Linked DNA regions of Homo sapiens: region 1 is linked to region 2. Evidence: promoter capture Hi-C in 16 types of primary human blood cells and fetal thymus (Javierre and others, 2016). All regions are on one chromosome and are shown on one strand. The core of a region is centred on a gene start or on the middle of the fragment in contact, and the rest is flanking DNA. Distances in the headings are between cores, read along the strand shown. Region 1 has its middle 22 kb from the start of PREP. Region 2 holds the start of LIN28B (lin-28 RNA binding posttranscriptional regulator B).

Region 1 (6,212 bases), core at 1,154-3,653, 470 kb after region 2:
TGAGACCATCCTGGCCAACATGGTGAAAACCTGTCTCCACTAAAAATACAAAAATTAGCTGGTCGTGATGGCGCATGCCTGTAGTCCCAGCTACTTGGGAGGCTGAGGCAGGAGAATTGCTTGAACCTGGGAAGTGGAGGTTGCAGTGAGCTGAGATCGCACCACTGCAGTCCAGCCTGGCAACAGAGTGAGACTCCATCTCAAAAAAAAAAAAAAAAAAAAATCTAGAGATGTTAGTTCTCAAAAGAGCTCTTTGGAGGTAATATTATGAAAAGTAAACAGAACTGCATTTTCCTCTACTTTTTTAGGAGCATCAGTTTAATAAATAATAGTACATATAAAATCATAATGCTATAGTCTTTATGGAATGTTCTTATGTGTGTGCATGTGTGTGTTCTTACTTAAGTACAAGTTTAAACCTCAGACAGTATTTATTGATTTCTTATTTTCTGTCCACTCAGAAAGTCATGGTGGACATGGATTGTTTTAAATTCATGTTTAATTGATCTTGAATTTTCTGGCATAACCCTGGTATCAGAGATACAAGTGGTCTAAGACTACTCTGTGGGCCTGTTTTGTCAACTTATCTGTCATATAATGGAGGGGATGTTTTCTCTAGATACCCCGCTGAGCTGCTGACAATTCAAAGTTCCCTTTGGAGGTCTTGGGGACCAGAGGCTGGTCTCATTGGCCAGTTACATGTGGCAGAGGGAACGAGGGGCCCTCCTTGGAGGCAATAGGACACCCTTTAGGTTGGAGACAATACTTAAAGCCATGCTATGGGACCAAGATCCAAGAACCTGGTTAGGGTTTGAAACCTGCCAAATCTGAAAGTTCCAAAGGCAGACACCAAATTTAGGGTATGAGATCCAGAGTTTGGGGCCTGGAAAATCAAAGCTTTTGTGAATTGTGAACTGTAAAACAGAAAAGAGGGACTTGGAGAAGGTCCTGAGTAATTACTGCTCACAGAACTTAAAGCATTCACAATCTGCCATGACATGCTATTTAGGGACCAGCAAGAAAGCAAGGCACAGGTGGTTCTGCAGTAGTAAAAGCTTGAGGTGGATCACTAGTAAGCATGCTAACTGCCATGTAATGTAAGGAAATCTCCATTTTTATAGACAAAGTATTCCATAGCCTGCCAGTAGGAAAGCTCCTTTGACCCCTCACTGAGCGGTCACTCAGGTCTTCAGGATGTCTTTCTGCACACATTTCTTTCCAAGAGTTAGTGGAGTGAGGCTTCTGGGTTTATACTGGTGTCTTACAGTTGCAGTGTTTCTCAGCACTTGCCATCTACTGGCTTAAGGGACAGCAATTCTGAATGCCCCCTAGGACCTCTTTTTACAGCTTAGACTGGGCAATAAACTCAAAGAAAAAACTCACAGTAAAAATAGTTCACTTGTCCCCTTCTCTAACCCACATATGGAGACAAAACAAATTTCTCATAATATACCAACACTTTTAAAAGTGGAAGCCTAATGATTTGAATTCCAGTGGGTAAGGAAGGAAGCAATGTTTTTATGTCCTCTCCACCTTGGAACAGGGTGGGCTATTTCTCCATTTATGTGGGCTGGCAGCAGATGGGGAGGTAAGGGCTTCTCATGATCCACAGCACCACAGTGCCAGCCCCCTGTCAAGCCTATATCAAGAAGAGGTGTGCAGGAGAAAGCTGAGTGTTAGGATTTCACCTGGGCAGAAGAATCGGGGGTGCCAGTTGCAGATTCCCGAAAGAGTGACTGTGACTTGTTGTGGTCCTTTTCCTGTTCCTGGAGTCAGAAAAAAGGGACCAGCTGCTTACTGATCCATCTTCTTTGAAATGAAGTGGAGATTAATTCCTAATTGTTCCACTTCTCATACCTACACATCACAAGTGTAGGTTCACTCCTGATCATTTCTGTGTGTTTTGTATTGTACTGTATTGTATTGTACTGTATTGTAGACAGGGTCTTTCTCTGTTGCCCACGCTGGAGTGCAGTGCTGACCATTTCTTTATCTTTTCAAGGCAGCCCTGATCCCACAGATAGTCCTTCATCCCTTCTTCACTAACAGCCCCTCAGTACTGGATTCATACTCTCTTTAAGTCCCAGCCGTTTGAGGTTTCAAAGTTTGCTACACTGCCCTCTGCTGGTCTGAACTCGGATTTACCCTAAAATGGGGGGCTCCCATTGCCAAGTACTTGAAGTTCACCCTAGATAAACGGCTTCATCAATCTCTATAGCACTTGATTTCCTTTCCTTATCTGGTGAAGTTTCCTATTCATATAGAACTTAGAGATGCTTAGGCTCTTGGACAGTTTCTGCAAATGTAGCATGAGGCTCTTGGAAAGGGAGACTTCTCTGCTTAAGGTTACTCCCTGGCTCCTGGCTTAATCTTTTCAGTGACATTTAATTCTACGGCCAATATCTGATGTTTACTCTTGTTTCTAAGCCATGGATCCTTTCTTGGTCCTCGAGTACGTTAGCCAATATGTCACCCAGATCCTTAAAAAGAGTTAGGAAACCATTCCCTGAGGTACCCTAGAAGTCTGCAGTGATACCAGTTGCTTCCAGTCTATTCTGATGAATACTGTTCCTATGAAATCACTGGTGCATACCACCTACAACTGCCAAGATCACTCATCCTGTGTGTTTAACCCAGGACTGTCTGCTTCCAGTCTGCTTTAGAAATCACGTACAAATATTTTTAAAAATATTATCTACTAATAAGGCAATCTCTCATCACAGTACAGTACAAACACAAGGTGTGTTATTAAGGATTTATCTGGCACCACAAAATTTGCCATAAAACTTCAAAGTCTTAAGAATAGGATTATCTAAAAAGCTCAACATCACTGATCATTAGAGAAATGCAAATCCAAACCACAATGAGATATGATTTCATGCCAGTCAGAATGGTGATCATTAAAAAGTCAAGAAACAACAGATGCTGGTGAGGCTGCAGAGAGATAGGAACACTTTTTTCTGTTGGTGGGAGTGTAAATTAGTTCAACCATTGTGGAAGATGGTGTGGCAATTCCTGAAAGATCTAGAACCAGAAATACCATTTGACCCAGCAATCCCATTACTGGATATATACCCAAAGGAATATAAGTCATTCTATTATAAAAATACATGCATGTGTATGTTCATTGCAGCACTATTCACAATAACAAAGACATGGAATCAACCCAAATGCCCATCAATGATAGACTGGATAAAGAAAATGTGGTACATATACACCATGGAATACTGTGCAGCCATAAAAAGGAACAAGATCGTGTCCTTTGCAGGAACATTGATGGAGCTGGAAGACATTATCCTTAGCAAACTAACACAGGAACAGAAAGACCAAACACTGCATGTTCTCACTTATAAATAGGAGCTGAACAATGTGAACACATAGACACAGGGAGGGAAACAACACACACTGGGGCCTGCCTGGCAGGGTGGAGGGCATGGATGGAGGGAGAGCATCAGGAAGAATAGTTAATGCATGCTGGGCTTAATACCTAGGTGATGGGTTGATAGGTCTAGCAAATCATAAGGGCGCATGTTTACCTATGTAACAAACCTGCACATCCTGCGTGTGTACCCCAGAACCTAAAATAAAATAAAATAAAAAACGTAAAAAAAAGAATTTTCTTTGCCCTCTATTCCTTTTTTACCTTTCTTGACTTACCTCTTCAGAATCTATTCTCTTAGAACATTTGGTTTTGTGTGTTTGTGGCTGTATACCTACATACCTTTCCATCATTGCCATTAGCTTCTTTCCAACAAGCTTTCACAAGTCTAAGAATTCTTGATTAGATTTTTTTTTTATTTTGCTGGCCTACAGGATTTGACATCCCACTAAAATCTTCTATCCTTCAGATGAACACTTTAGCCCCCAATTCTAAACTTGACTGGATGTTACTCTGTTTGCCTAAAATATTTCTGATTTATTCATATCAGTTTTAAGGCACGTCCATTTCTTATATGTATTTAATTGTTTTATTTAAATTGATCTTTCTGGGTTTTTCTAATTATCACTTATAAGAAAAATCATGCTTCTTATGCATATGGAAGTACATGTTGGAAAATGGATAAAAGAGCCATTTTAAGGATAAAATGCAAATAGTGCATCAGGCCTCAAAATTTCACTTTGAGTTTTCCCTTTAATAACAAAATATGGCCAGGCATGGCCTATAATCCTAGCCTTTGGGGAGGCTGAGATGGGAGGATCACTTGGGCCCAGGAGTTCAAGACCAGCCTGGGCAACATAGGGAGACCCTGTCTCTATAAAAATTTTTAAAAAATTAGCCTAGCATGGTGGTATGTGCCTGTGGTCCCAGCTACTCAGGAGGCTGAGGTGGGAGAATCACTTGAGCCTGGGAGGTTGAGGCGCAGGTGACAGAGCAAGACCCTGTCTCAAGAACCAACTGACCAAACAAACAAAAATATAAGTCTTTCTCAAAAAAGGTAGTCACTTAACAGATATATATGGGTAACACCTATACACAGGACACTGAATTAAACATGGAATTATAAAAAGATGAACATATGTTGACTTGTGCTCAAACATGATCTCAGATTACTATATTAGGATTTCGATGGCCACTTCAGGAGCAAGTCTTTCATTTAATAAATATTTATTGAGTGCTTACCACATTCCAGGTACCATGCTAGAAGCTAGAGATTTATGGAGCCTGGATTTGGGAGGTAACTCTAATCTAGTGCAGTTGGATCTATAGGACAGGATGCTGTGGGAGCACAGATGTCATCTAACTTCGTCTTGGAGGGATAGAGAAGGGTGACCCAAGGTAGTAATGTCTAAATTGAATTTGAGAAATGAGTAAGAAGTAACGAGGTACAGATCAGAAGTAGCGGGGGTGAGCAGCTAGGTGCAGAGTTTAAGGGAGCACCCTATGGAAATGCTGAGGGCTGTGTACAAGGGATGTATGTGAAGGAGTGTGAGAGTTTGGTATGGATGGAGCCTGCATTAGTCTGTTCTCACGGTGCTAATAAAGACATACCCAAAAACTGGGTAATTTATATAGGGAAGAGGTTTAATTGACTCACAGTTCAGTATGGCTGGGGAGGCCTCAGGAAACTTACAATCATGACAGAAGGGGAAGCAAACACATTCTTCTTCTCATGGTGGCAGGAAGAAGTGCAGAGCAAAAGGGGAAAAAACCCATATAAAACCATCAGATCTTGTGAGAACTCACACACTATCACAAGAACAGCAGCATGGGGGTATGCGCCCCCATGATTTAATTATCTCCCTCTGGGTCCCTCCCACCACACATAGGGATTATGGGAACTACAATTCAAGATGAGATTTGGGAGGGGACACAGCCAAACCATATCAGAGCCTACAGAGCAATGTAGGAGTCAGGAGAGATGAAGCTGGAGAGGAAAATTGGTCAAATCATGCAAGTCTCCTATATTCATTGATGATAGGGAACTAGGAGAGATATGCACTGGCTTTATAGTAAATGGCTCCTATAGTGTGTGAGTCAGATAATGTCACAGGCATGATACAAATTATAAGCAGGGTAGGCCTTGCTGCTGCAACAAAGATCTACAAATTCAATGACTTAGAGAACAGAAAGTTTATTTCTTTCTCACTTCATAGGACTGAGTGGTTTCAAGTCAGCAGCTAGAAATGGGAAGAGGAGAAGGTGGGCTCTGCTTTTTGCAGAGACCCCGGCTGACTGCAGCTGTGCTATCTTTAACCCATTGTTTCTAGCATCACCACCCCAGGAAACTAGAAAGAGAAACGGGATTGTAAGTAAGTGGCTTTTATGGGCCAGGTCTGAAAGTAGCACGTACTGCTTCTGTCACATTCCATTAGTCAGAAACCGGTCACATGGTTACACCATATTGCAAAGTACCCTGGAAAATGGAGCCCAGTTTTGTGCTCAGGAAGAAGAGAAAATGGATTTTGGGGAATAGTGTCTGCCACAGTGCTGGAGGGAAGAGCTGGTGGGCTATGAATCAGAACCATTGCTCACTCCTTCTAAGAGCCCTTTCTCTAGTTGCCTCTGCTTATCTCGTAGTCCTGGTCTTCTTTCAATTCCATTTCCCTTATGCAAATACATACAGGGCCTCTTGGATTATTTATCTCAACCCTAGCTACTTGTCATTCCTCAACTAAGATTCATGTTTGATCAATCTCCTCTGACTCTCAGCACAACAGGCTGTTTGCTTGCCCAGCTCAGCCTGTTTTAAGGAGAGAGTCCGACCTTGCTG
Region 2 (6,955 bases), core at 1,302-3,801:
GGTATGTAAATGCATTTGTCTTAAATTCTTCATGAACGAATTTTAGAGGATTTTTCAGGGTTACCAGTTGGAAAAAGCCTTCTACACAACTTGAAAGGCTGATGTCCCTCTCAGGAAATGAATGAGTCGATAACCTCTGACACCAGTGACCACTCCAGTGAACCTTACCTTAATTCCACTAATACTGGAGGCCCCCAATCAGGCAAGACTGTGAATCTCATAACTATACTGTACAGTGTAGTTCAGTTATGGTATTCCACTTTTCACCCACATGTTCATAAATTTGAATTTCATCAAATTTAACAATAAACAGATTCTGAATCTACCTACATTATTATGCTTCTGGTTTTATAATGATTAAACTGTTTTCTAATTAAAAGCAAACTTAAATGAATATTTTACAAAGCTAAACTATACTGGCCTGTGAATTTTGTGATCATTACTTTTATGTAAGTAATAGCATTTCACCTCAATTTACATGAATACTTTCTGAGATTTTTTTCCTCTTATACCAGATGTTGATTTTTTAAAGTGATTATTAAAATATGAAAAAATATAAATTACTTTCTCGATTTCATATTATGTCACAAGCTTAGCCTGTAATGCCATCATTGAGATTACTTTCTTGTCAGTGTAATCAGTATAATAGAAGTAATTTCTACCATCAAAATAATGCCTAGTAAATGTTTTGTTAGTAAATAATTTTTTCAGAGCTTTGAGCTTTTGTTAAACTTTCAAAGTCATTGGATTTTTGCACCTTTTCTTTTCTCCCTAACAGCTGGCACAGGATTATTCCTCCCAAAATAAATAAAATGAGAAAGTAGCCCTTTTTCCTGAGAAATAACAAAAGGAATAACAGACAAAAAAAAAAATCTTTCCAAATTGATTAGTTTTCATTAAACCTTTTATCAAAAACAGCTGAAAATAACTTCTATTTTTTATACATCCATTTTCCAATCTGAGCCAATTAAATTTATATTTAGTTGTTTAATATGGGGAGGGAGTATAAATAGGTGTATACAGCTTTTTCCATAGCTCTTCGATTCATAATCCCTACATTTTAGCTTGTGTGAAACAGTGCTGGAGTGTGGATGTGTTTGAAGAGACTGGGAGGGGGATTGCTGGCATGGTGGGGGAGGGTCAACTCGGTAGCTTTGTCGAAGGAAGTGGTATCTGAACAGTTAGTTTCTTGGTAAACTGCTTGTTTAAGAAAATGGGGGGTGGGGTAGGCAAGTCTGGTGGTGCATTTTAAGGTTTTAAAATAGCGATATTTTATATTTTAAAGGAAATAAAGTCTTTTTAGTTAATCTATAATATTTATTATAGTATTCGATAAGGGCAGAAATACTGTTGCCAGCATCTTGTAATCAATCGTTTGAACCAGTTTGAAAGGTAAAGGGGGTAGGCATTTTGAAACTGGGGGTCAGTTGAGGAAGGACAGTAGGAGCTTCATCCGTTGTTACATTTTCGTTTATTCAACTCTTCTAGCCATTGGTAGTGGACTTTTAAAATGTCAGGGTACAAGTCAATATGATATGAATTTACCTTTTTTCTCCCACTTGTCCTTCTTTCTCCACCCCACCCCCTGCCCGCGCCGGCTTTTTTTCTCTCCCACCTCTTTCTTTGACTCTGCTGCCGCCTATCCTGGCGGCTCCTCTTCACCTCCCCTGCCTGGCGATCCCCTCCCCCTCCTGCCCTATGTCCTCCAGCTCTTGGGGAACAATCGCCACTGATTGAGGTTCACTCTATGTTAGGCTGGAAAACTGGGCTGTTATTTAGGAAGTCATTAATCACATCTCCTCCCCCGGAAAGAGATGGCAGAGAAACCTGTGAAGTACAATTCCTTACCAACCCCCTCTAAAATTTTCCAAAATGGTTTACCTAAACACAATTTGACTATATGAAGGTGAAAACGATTTTTCTAGTAGGATTTTATTTTAAATTTGAAAAAATTTCGGGCATAATCAGGTAATTTATGTGCCTCTGCCTTTTCCTAGGTGTATGTTTTCATTATCTAAAGTTTCATGGGGATGTAATTAGGTTTAATTAGATCTTTTATAAATTATATATTTTCCTCTAAGAATTGAATTAAATATGAAATTAGCGTTCCAAGCAGGTTTACTGCCATGGAATAGCTGAATTCTTAAGGGGAAAAAAAGCGTTAACATCGGTTGTTTTATTTAAACGACCCCCTCCCATGATTTTAGTCAGGCTTGTGTGTAAGGCACGCGTGTGCACATATATGACTGCCTTTTTTTCTAAATCTATGATTCACAAGGTCCCTCCATTGTGTTTAAGTAGAAGCACGAAATCAGCATTCTGATTTATCCTAAAGAAGCGTTCCAAATTGTCTTTAAGATAACATGTTTGAGTTTTTCGTGTTCATTCATAAATTATTTTGATGTCAGCATAGATGAAATGGCGATTGGTTATCTCTTCCTCTTGCCAGCCCCTTAAGGATACGAGGTGAAATTAGTAGCAAGAAAGCATGTAATTGACAAAGTCACGTGTGCTCAGGGGGCCAGAAACTGGAGAGAGGAGAGAAAAAAATCAAAAGAAGGAAAGCACATTAGACCATGCGAGCTAAATTTGTGATCGCACAAAATCAAGATGTTAGATTGATGCAGAAGATCACTCCGTTCCAAAGGGAAAGTTTTCATCTCACGAGTTTGGAGCTGAGGGCCCGTGGGGCAACATGGCCGAAGGTTAATTTTCTTTTCTATTGTTTTACTGTGAATTTCTTTCTTCTTTTCTCCTCCCCCTCCCCCTCTCCCACCCTTCTTAGACCGTCCCCCCCTTCCCCTTTTACCCCAATACTGGGCATTACCTCCCAACCCCCCATCACGCAGTGGGGCTTTCTGCAAACCTATTGTTATAGATCTCCAAAAATGTTTTGTACCGCCCACACTGATTCACAACTTGAAAAGCTTTCAGGGGGCTATTGTTTGAATTGTGTGAGTGTGATTAAGCGCAGTTTCAGTTAGTGATTCCAAGAAAACTTTTATACACCTGCCCCCTCCCCCATTCCACCCCAACTTTAATTGAAAGTTATGGGGGGGAGGGGAATGCACATTGCAAATAACGCTGGATTCAGTGCTGCCCCATGTGCCTTAACTAGTAGCTCTAAACCATCTTCACGATTTCTCTTTCCTCCTCGTGCCCGCCGGAGAGAATAGTTTCGCTGAAAATTTCTCTTTGTCAATGGGATCAGTATTAAATCAGCAATATACAAGTAAAGTATCGCATGCTGTAATGTAAAATGTGGCTGAAAAATGGAGTTAAATGAATAAGTACACGTATGTATAGAAACGTGGAAGTTGGTGTGATCGATAGAACAGTGTGGCTTCCCCCTCCCCCGCTTTCCTTTTAACCCTTTTCATTTTAAGTATTTTCTGTGGAGAAAAGAAATCAAACCATTAAAAAAAATTTTTTTTTTCTGTTACCCTTCCCCCCCAACCCCAGGCAGGCAATTTTTTTTTTTTAATCTTTGAATGCACATTGAATGGGAATACAGACTGACTTTTTTGTCCTGTTCCTTCTCAGGCGGGGCTAGCAAAGGTGGTGGAGAAGAGCCCGGGAAGCTGCCGGAGCCGGCAGAGGAGGAATCCCAGGTTTTGCGCGGAACTGGCCACTGTAAGTGGTTCAATGTGCGCATGGGATTTGGATTCATCTCCATGATAAACCGAGAGGGAAGCCCCTTGGATATTCCAGTCGATGTATTTGTACACCAAGTAAGCCAAACTTTTTTGTCCCCCTCTTCATCTTTTTCCATGTGGAGGAGCTGATCGGTAGTTATGCCAATAGACGTACGATAAGATGTCCTTCGGTATATTGAAAGACAAAATCTTCCCTGAAATCACTAGGTAGTCCAACGTTTAGGGTACGTGTATGGGCCTTTTCCTGGGTTTTCTGTCTAAAGAGAAAAGAAAATATTTGAAATTTCACTATATATATTAAGGTTGACGTTATTAGCATTTCCCCCTGCTTCATTCTACAGCGAAATAGTGTTCTTGTTGTTTCCGGTATTACCTATACAATATACTTTGTCGCCTGTATCTGGTGAATGGGTAGAAAAATGAAGAAACATGATCATTTTAAGGTTGAAAAAACAAAGCGAAACAGTTTGCTGTGGAAAGAAATGTATAGATTGCCTTATTTTAGACACCTCTAGTCACAGTAGCTCCCTTTATTATTTCATCGCTGCCTGTCCTGTAATCATTTTGTAGATTCAGATCAAAATAATTTGACTTCATAGTAAAATAAAATAGAACACTGTTGGCCTAATGTGGTTGTAAAGAAATGCGTGCAATAGAGGGATGCTTGATAAACATTTTAGAAATGTGCTCCGTGTAGTCATTGGTCTACGTATACTGTCTCTTTAAGAGACTGAACTCAAAAAAACATGTGGCCAGAGGCGGCTCTTGCTTGTGTGTTTAAAATGTGCTGGTCTGCTACTTGGGGTAAATTTCCACCTTTGCTCGTATTGTGTTGTAATTTTTAAAGATGTTTTAATACCAAACAGAATTTCATTGCTTCCCATTTTCAAAATTTTACCCAGGAAATAATGAATTAATACTTCTGCCTTTACTCCTCTCTACTGCTTAATCCCTTTATAGTAAAAAAGATACTTTTATGGAAGCCGGTTGTTTCCTCAAAAAAAGGTAAATATAAATTTTCTGTAGTTAGAAATAAAGAGGTTTACGACTAAAGAGGTTTATTTTGGCATGATAATCTAAGTTAAAAAGAATTGAATGAAAGGCTGTTAATACTACAGATTGACTGACAGATACATGGGTGAAATATTTGGTATATTTGCTTGAAAAGTATATATTTGATACTGTGTTGCATGTTCCTAGTAATATTTATACCCCCTTCCCTAAGGAATATCATCTTCAAATTAAATATATAAACAATAGAAACATATGAAACCATTCTGTTTTGATCTGTTGTCCTGTGGTGCTTGGTAGCTTCCTGACCTTGCTGTGTGGTGTGTGTTTTCCTTTCCTGAAGGCCTGGCCATCATTATTGGCTGTTTATATGTGGAAGGATCAGCATAATCTGTGAATTGAAACAGGGTTTAAGTACACAAATACAAGTCCACATACAGACTACTGGATTTTATGCTTCCTATTTTATAGTGCAAAATGAAGCTACATTTTCTGTTTTTTCCCCTCTAAGACTGGATGACAAAAATCATAGACAAATCCATTTTCTCTCAGGCTCTTTCTTCCACCTTTGAACCTTCTTTAGGTTGTTAAATTGTTTTTTATGATCTCATAAATTTGTTTTATAGATGAATGAAAAAAATAACCCTTCTTTGTCTGGTCACGCCTTTTTATAATTTGATTTTCTATGTTTACCTTCTAAAATATTCATCAAATGTTAAGATATTTTATTAACCAATGTTAATGTTTAGAACAACAAGACATTTGTGTTTATACTATTTAATGATTATATATTGATAAACATTCCTCTATTCACTGAATTAAAACATGTAGCTGCTGAAGTTTTTTAAATATATAGCTGTTTCTATACTATAAACATTGATTTTTAAATAGTTGACTTAATATTCAGTTACATACAGTAGTATATACATACAGTTCATGTATATATTAAAAGGACAGTATTAAATGATGCCTAGTTAAAGAGGTTTCTTATATTGTAATATACATAAATTGTATATAAATTGTATGAATAATTGTTTTGAAGAAGGCAGGAATCCTACTGATGTTAGCTAAGCAACTACAAGTAACAGATGGTTGTAAATGATACAGGTATTATGTGTGCATCACTTATGGAATAAGGTTGCAATTCAAGACGATTTCATAGAATTTTAAAAAACATTTTTATTATTATTTTAGAGGCCTTTTTAGTTTTATAAGCATTTTTGAAAACATACCAGGTTTTATGTCTATGTACTATTTTGTTGTGAAAGGATATGTATCATAGGTGATTAGGAATTTTAAATGTTCAACTGGACCTATGTCTACTCAAAATTTTTAAAATATATGACATAGTTTTTTTTGAAGTGTTTGGAAGTACATGTGTCACTGGATTTTTTTTTTGAAGTATTCTGAAACATTTTTAATAATGTATATTTGGAGAAATAAAAAACAAATTATTTGTGTCCTTAATAAATACATAAAAATTTATGCTGAGGAACCTAGGATACTTTTTCTCTTAAAAATATTGATTGCATGTAACAGCATATCAAAACATATTCAGTTGCTTCAAAATAAAGAGAATATATATATGTGTGTGTTTTAAAATTGAGCTGTGTATTTGTAGTTATGTATATTTATAGTTACATAACTCTACTTAAAATTTATTGGCAGTAATACCATCAAACTTTCTTGTAGTTCCTGTGATGTCACCAAATCCTCAAAAAGAAACACATGCCTAGGTGCTGTACTTTGTCTCTCTTTAGTCTCTCTTTAGACATGTTGATAAATGCTGTGAGATTCTGCTATTTGAGGATGGTATGTAACCATTGATGGTTTAAAATGACAGTCTTCATTTGATTTTCTAATGTTAATTTGTAATTTAAATAATCATATTTTTATGATGTGAAAATATATATTCTGACCCATGTTAATTGTGAAACATTGATATAGTTCAATAATGAATATTTTATTTTTAAAAAATTAACAAAATATGTAAGTATTATATTTGTGAATTTTGTCATATCTCACTGTTGAAGTTTTTAAAAAATGTTTAATAAAATAGGACAATTTTGATGATTTTATTTTTAAATATATTTAAGAATTTCTCGAGTAATACAAACACAGATTTGTTTCAAATGAAGTAAGGATATACGTGGTTAATACAAATTTGTTACGTCTAAATTCTTTTATTTTTTTTTTGAGGTGGAGTCTCACACTGTCACCCGGGCTGGAGTGCAGTGGTGAGATCTCGGCTCACTGCAACCTCCACCTCACGAGTTCAAGCGATTCTT

What was found. The method cuts DNA at HindIII sites, captures the fragments that hold promoters and counts their contacts. A CHiCAGO score of 5 or more calls a contact.
Region 1: a fragment that was not itself captured here is called in contact with the fragment with the promoter of LIN28B in region 2 in 1 of 17 cell types (fetal thymus); the score reaches 5.2 in fetal thymus.

Annotation. Positions count from the first base shown.
Region 1 is chr6:105,422,245-105,428,456 of GRCh38, forward strand. No RefSeq gene overlaps it. Among named protein-coding and RNA genes, the nearest start is that of PREP, 22 kb to the left of the region's middle. RefSeq lists an enhancer at 2,177-2,226. The HindIII fragment of the contact is 2,701 bases long and covers 1,054-3,754 here.
Region 2 is chr6:104,954,556-104,961,510 of GRCh38, forward strand. LIN28B (lin-28 RNA binding posttranscriptional regulator B) reads left to right here and starts at 2,552. Exons shown (of 4, transcript NM_001004317.4): 1 at 2,552-2,705; 2 at 3,544-3,731. The coding sequence starts at 2,696. RefSeq lists enhancers at 1,565-2,502, 2,503-3,440. The HindIII fragment of the contact is 2,336 bases long and covers 590-2,925 here.